2 separate regions of the Homo sapiens genome follow, and region 1 is linked to region 2. Evidence: promoter capture Hi-C in 16 types of primary human blood cells and fetal thymus (Javierre and others, 2016). All regions are on one chromosome and are shown on one strand. Each heading gives the region's core, a stretch centred on a gene start or on the middle of the fragment in contact. The rest is flanking DNA. Distances are from core to core; before and after follow the strand shown.

Region 1 (2,964 bases), core at 312-2,811, 530 kb before region 2:
AACATTTTTCTGACCTGAGGCCCAATGTCATAGCCAGTAAGTGCCAGAGCTGGAATCTGAACTCTAGTTTGACTTAAAAATCCATATTCCACTAGCCCCCTCCAATTTATGATATATTATTAACCACTAACTTATATTTCACTTGAAGCACTCATATATGTAGGAAAGAGAAAGAAGGAGTATATGAAACCAAAAACCATATTTGACTATTATGGTTGAGCATCACTGCTTCACAGAGAGTTCTGTCAAGACCATCTATAGAGAGACATGTTTTGGTGGTGCACTCTCCAATCATAGCTACTGAACATAGGCATAGCTTACAGGATGGTTTATAAAAAATGAAGCATCACAGAAAAAAACCTCTGAATCAAACTTACCAAGTTCTGACTTTATTTTGAGAAGATCAAATTCGTGTGCATCCTAAAAAAGGAATGAATACATCTGTAAGCATATGAATTATTTAATCTTTCAGGCTGAAGTTATAAACAACTTATTCACAGGAGTTTGAGTAGTTTAGAAACTCAGTCTGAGTTCGGTATCTTCTGCTTTTGAAGTCTTCCAAGTCTAACTACTTCCCTCCATACCCAACTTTTTTACAGCATAGTCCAAACAAGTCATGTCAATCAGTTAAACCATTATAATTGGGCCGGGCGCGGTGGCTCACGCCTATAATCCCAGCACTTTGGGAGACCGAGGTGGGCGGATCACCCGAGGTCAGGAGTTTGAGACCAGCCTGGCCAACATGGCAAAACCCCGTCTCTACTAAAAATACAAAAATTGGCTGGGTGTGGTGGTGGGTGCCTGTAATCCCAGCTACTCAGAAGGCTGAGGCACGAGAATCGCTTGAACCTAGCAGGCAGAGGTTGCAGTGAGCTGAGATCGTGACACTGCACTCCAGCCTGGGTGACACAGCGAGACTCCATATCAAAGAACAGCAACAACATTATAATTGCTCATAGCTTATATCTATAGTTTTTATAATTTACAATGTTATCCATTTTGTAGCCTTCTAAAAATGTAGAAGTCTATGTATGCATTCTGCAGTGTGATAAAAGTGTAGGTAAGATATGTTTCTATTGTACTGTGCATTTGGACTAGAATTATGGATATAGGTTCTTTGCCCCACATAGGTAATTTTTACAAATTCTGCTTTTCATTTTATGCTGTCAAATACACTGTTTAAACCTCAAAGCTTCTCTTCACTCACACCTTCCTATAAATCACGCTTTCTTTTGATTTTTACAATGCACTTATTTTTTGCGTGTTTGTTTGACACCTGCAATTGTCTGTGTAAATGTTTTAACCTACAATCTCACAGATGATAAAGACCATTTAACTCACTGGGATGGCATTTAGTGTAGCACCATATGAAGGATGATTAGGAATTCGTGATGTTATCACTGAAAGTGACCCAGCAGAGGTTAAGGACACCTGTCAAGGATGCCGAAAAGGTAATCCTTACACAGGATAGGCATACTAAGGCTGCCTTCAATACAAAGACATTAAGATATTATGAATTAAATCTAAACACAGGAAATTATACACACATACTAGTGGGAACCTTTTTCAGAGAAACTAAAATCAAGGAAAATGTTTATGGTCTTTTGAGCGCTTTCTAGGCCCTTATTTTACTAAACTAAGAACAGTATTTCTGAATAAGGGTGAGGTGAAAGTGGGTGAAAGTAGAGAATATGGTCCACTATTGGCAGAGGTGGCTGCAGGGAGGGGACGGAGAGATATCAGAATCATCCAGTAATATTTTTCTATTATAATCACCCCTCTGCCCACAAGCTGTGATACTATCATGAATCATTACATGTTCCCCTTCCCTATCCGCCTTGTGCAGCTAAGGATCAGAGGTGCAGGGTGTGTGTCCTCTCTCAGGTATACTGGGGTGAAAAAGGTTTAGAACTGCTAGCTCCAAGCTTCACTATAACATAAAAATGGCATCCAGAAGGGAAAGCCCACACTAGGAATGCTCCCTAGTTTCTTCTCTCTAAATCCTGGCACCTGAAGGAACTGTAGGATCATGCCCTAGCTCCTCTCTACCCACCCTCCTTTTTCCCTATTCCTCCGGGACCTTTGTAAATGGCAATGTTCTCCCTTCTTGCTCTCCTATTCACCAGCACAAGAAGCACTGGAAAAAAGACTCAGAACCTGTCCCACCTGCTGAGCTAGAATGATCTTGTAAGCATCTCAAAGGTGAGATGGCATCAGTGGTCTGAGAAATCTCACACTAACAAACAGCTCACTCGGGTCCAGTCAACTGTACTAACTAAATTGCCCTGAGCTCTGGTTCTCCCTGACAGACCTGGCCTGTCTCTTCTGGTTGGAATAATGATTGGGAAACTGAAGTAAAAGCAGATGAGGGTGCAACAATTACTAGCTTTCCCCTGTCAGAATAAAACAAAATTCAAATAAATACAGGTATCTTACCTCCATGTGGACATACAACTTCTCAATTGTTTCTGCTTGCTTTTCACAAAATAAGCAGACTGCAGAGGCAGGGTGTTCTTCCCAATCAGACCAGTCACTGAATTAAAAAAGAGGAGAGAAAATACGGAGATTCCCTTCATTAAGAGAGTATACTACACAGTGACTTGGTATTGCTTTCTCCTTACTAAAAAACCCTGCCAATCTCTTTCAACTCTGACATTTTGGTAAAGACTGTCACATCATATTATGACTCTCTGATATAGCTTTTGAAATTCAAAGCAGCACCATGAAATTAATATACATAGTGAACAGGTGCTGTTCCATTTTCTCCTATTTGCCGTTCTTCTGAGTAGCTATCTCAGTCTACAGTCAGAGGAATGTCGTCCTGAGACAATGAGGTTTAATTTGCAAAGGAGACATATCAGAAAATGTGATGCTCTCTCCCATTAACCACAACCACTGAGTGCACACGCTGTGAGGTGTGATGCCGGGAATGTGTTTCTGCATGACAAATAGTGTATTTTACAA
Region 2 (3,067 bases), core at 213-2,712:
TTATTCAGATCTCTTTCTGATTCTGTTTTTTGGTATAAGAAAACTTAAAAGATTTGCCTGGGCAGGGAATTTTTATATAATGTCTGAATTTAAAGCAATTAGCATATCTGAAGAAGTGTATGCATTTTTTACAAGTTCTACGTTAAAAGGAGTTCCAAAAATGAACTCACACAGGAATAAAGAAATCCATCTTATACCTCATCCTCTTGGAGATACTCAGACATATTACAAGAGAAACCACGCATCTGTCTTTTAGCATATACCAAAAAGCTCGTGAAACCTGGAATACAGCTTTGGAGCAATATACACCTAGATAATAATAGTACTTATTTATTTAGTTACTTCTTCACTTTAGAAAATTTTAAGCATATGTACAAGTAGAGAGAATAGTATAATGAACCCCCATGAGGTACCCATATCCAGCTTCAACTATTATCAACTCATGGTCAGTCTTACTTCAACTATACCCTCAACCACTTTTGAAGCAAATCCAAAATACTATGTCACTTCACCTGTCAATATGCTTGTAACACCATAGTATTGATATATCTTGTTCTTGTTTTAGATCTGGGATTCCTACTTTTACCTCGCAGTCATTTTTATAAACCAGTTGTGTCTGCAGTTGGAGATGTTCACACCTTCCAAGAAGAAAAAGGTGTTAGAAAAGTAAGTATCAGTGTATAATCAGGTGAGAAATGTTGCCTCTTAAAGAGTATTTAGTTCAAATGATTCATAAATCAGAATGCGCATAACTGGAAATCACACAGTGAAGAACCAGTGACCAAGGGGTCAAGAAGCAGTCTTTTCTGGATGTTTTGATATTTCAAACATGTTTGCACATTGTTTTGACCTGGCTCTTTCAGGATTCAAAATTTCTATAGATGCAAAAAATTATGAAACAGATCTCTTTTACTAAAAGGTTTACACCAGAATTTGACTTAGAGGCATCGTGACATGTATATTAAATGTCTTTAATTAAAAACTCCTTGCCTTGTAATTCAGAATGATAGATTGTATCCTAAAGACACACAAATACTTCCTTGTTCTGGAGGCATTGTATCAGGTTTGGTTTTTTGTTCTATTTCAGGTATGGTGACATGCGGGTAACAATGGGTTGTGAAATTTTCAGCATGTGGCAAAACCTAGGTAAGTGAGGAAAAGAGAAGCCACATCTACTATACAGCTCCTCGCTGTACCTTGAAGTGTACAAATGAAGAAAGGCAATTTACCAGTGACACCATGTGAAACCAAATGTCTAAATCAATAAACATCTATAGAAAGTAATTGACACTTTGGCATTGAATGAGGTTACAACAAATTCTTTAAATTGGTCTCTAAGAAAAGTCACCTTACCTTTGTGTGTTTCATTATTAATTAACGATAAATTTTATAATCTAGCATTGCTCCAACATTACACATATTTCCAGCGATGAGGCAACCTTTCAGAATTTGGAACTGTAACAACTCAAAATTTCTAGAACTCTGAGTTGAAGCTATGAATCATAATAAATTTAGGTTAAACTTCATGAAACATTGACTTGAACGTCACTACTCTTAAAAACTTGAGACCATTGTCCTATATCATAAAGAGTATAGCCAAAGGATTTTAAAAGCATCTGCAGTTGCTAAGAAACTGTTGGATCCAATTTTGTTAATCTGCTATAGCAGATAGAGTATATTATTCCAGAAAATTGATGGTACAGATCTGGTTGCATAGAAAACAGTAATATTTGGAAAACAAATTGTTTTAAAATTCATTGGCATAGGGTCCCTTTCTAGAGATTTATAAGTTATTTCATTTGGTATGTTAACTATGCAGGTTTTTAGTATTCATTTACTATTACTGCATCTTAATGCTCCTCTTTGATTTATTAAAATGATTGACCTATTTGAGTTGAATACGTAATGACCTGAAAATATCTTTTCTCTTGGGCTTATCCAAGTACAACTTGGAGATTGGAAGGATTTATTTTCTGTGAATGAAAATAGAACCATTATTGTTTTACTTCCACTCATGTTAACAGACTGATTTTTGACCAGGATCATTACAGGGTGATTTTTTTTTAATAGGGTATGTATATTCCTCAAATATACATAACAACTTGAGGGAGCCTTGGTATATATAATTAAGCCCAGTGTTCAATGCTTGCTGGTGATTTCAGAAAAAATAAAAAATAAAAAAAAATAATGAAGCTGGGAGCAATGGCTCATGCCTGTAATCCCAGCACTTTGGGAGCCTGGAGCGGGCAGATCACTTGAGGTCAGGAGTTTGAGACTAGCCTGGCCAACATGGTGAAACCCTGTCTTTACTAAAAATACAAAAATTAGCCAGGCGTGGTGGGGGGGTGCCTGTAATCTCAGCTACTTGGGAGGCTGAGGCAGGAGAATCACTTGAACCTGGGAGGTGGAGGTTGCAGTGAACCAAGATCGCTCCATTGCACTCCATCAGCCTGGGTGACAGAGTGAGACTCTGACTCAAAAAAAAAAAAAAAAGAGTTATCATCTTGAAAACAACCTTCAACTATGTAAGGCCAGCCAGAAGATATCATGGTCTGTCTTTAGTTGCAGCTCAAAAATAGTTTTCTTATTTGGAGACTGCTCTTCTTAGTCTTCAGTGTTTTCAGGTTTCATTGATTCTTTGTGTCCTTGTTTTTCCTAAAGAAGATCAAGGCCCTTGTAGTGTCCATATTGCATTCGACATTAATTTAGCAAGATGTTTTTGAAAGAATGCTGCATTGAATCTGTTTGAATGCACTTGTGGTTGTGTAAGCTCTTTTCTGGGCTCAAATTATGAGAGCAGGACAGATTCTGTTCGGTTACAAGAATGTTAAAAAAGAATGACCAGTTTCTGTTCTAGATACATCTCAGCATTGCCATCTATGGTTATTTCCACATAAACCTGTATCCAAACCATAATAGCTATGCATTTAGGCCCATGACCCTTGGGCTGCTAAATAAAGCTGTCACATGTAATCTCCCTAAACATGTCACTGTATACTTCATAAACTTTTATCCTGTATTTTGTCTTTCTTCTAAAATGAAACTATTTCTGCCTCTCTGGTTTTTA

The links. The method cuts DNA at HindIII sites, captures the fragments that hold promoters and counts their contacts. A CHiCAGO score of 5 or more calls a contact.
Region 1: a fragment that was not itself captured here is called in contact with the fragment with the promoter of DOCK4-AS1 in region 2 in 1 of 17 cell types (M1 macrophages); the score reaches 5.4 in M1 macrophages.

What each region holds. Positions count from the first base shown.
Region 1 is chr7:112,337,299-112,340,262 of GRCh38, reverse strand. It overlaps ZNF277 (zinc finger protein 277), which reads right to left. Exons shown (of 12, transcript NM_021994.3): 9 at 2,437-2,533; 10 at 378-420. All of the region lies in intron 2 of ZNF277-AS1 (ZNF277 antisense RNA 1), which reads left to right. Among named protein-coding and RNA genes, the nearest start is that of ZNF277-AS1, 12 kb to the left of the region's middle. The HindIII fragment of the contact is 733 bases long and covers 1,195-1,927 here.
Region 2 is chr7:111,806,900-111,809,966 of GRCh38, reverse strand. It overlaps DOCK4-AS1 (DOCK4 antisense RNA 1), which reads right to left and starts at 1,462. Exons shown (of 2, transcript NR_103806.1): 1 at 1,354-1,462. DOCK4 (dedicator of cytokinesis 4) reads left to right here. Exons shown (of 53, transcript NM_001363540.2): 29 at 566-666; 30 at 1,088-1,146. The HindIII fragment of the contact is 9,376 bases long and covers 1-3,067 here.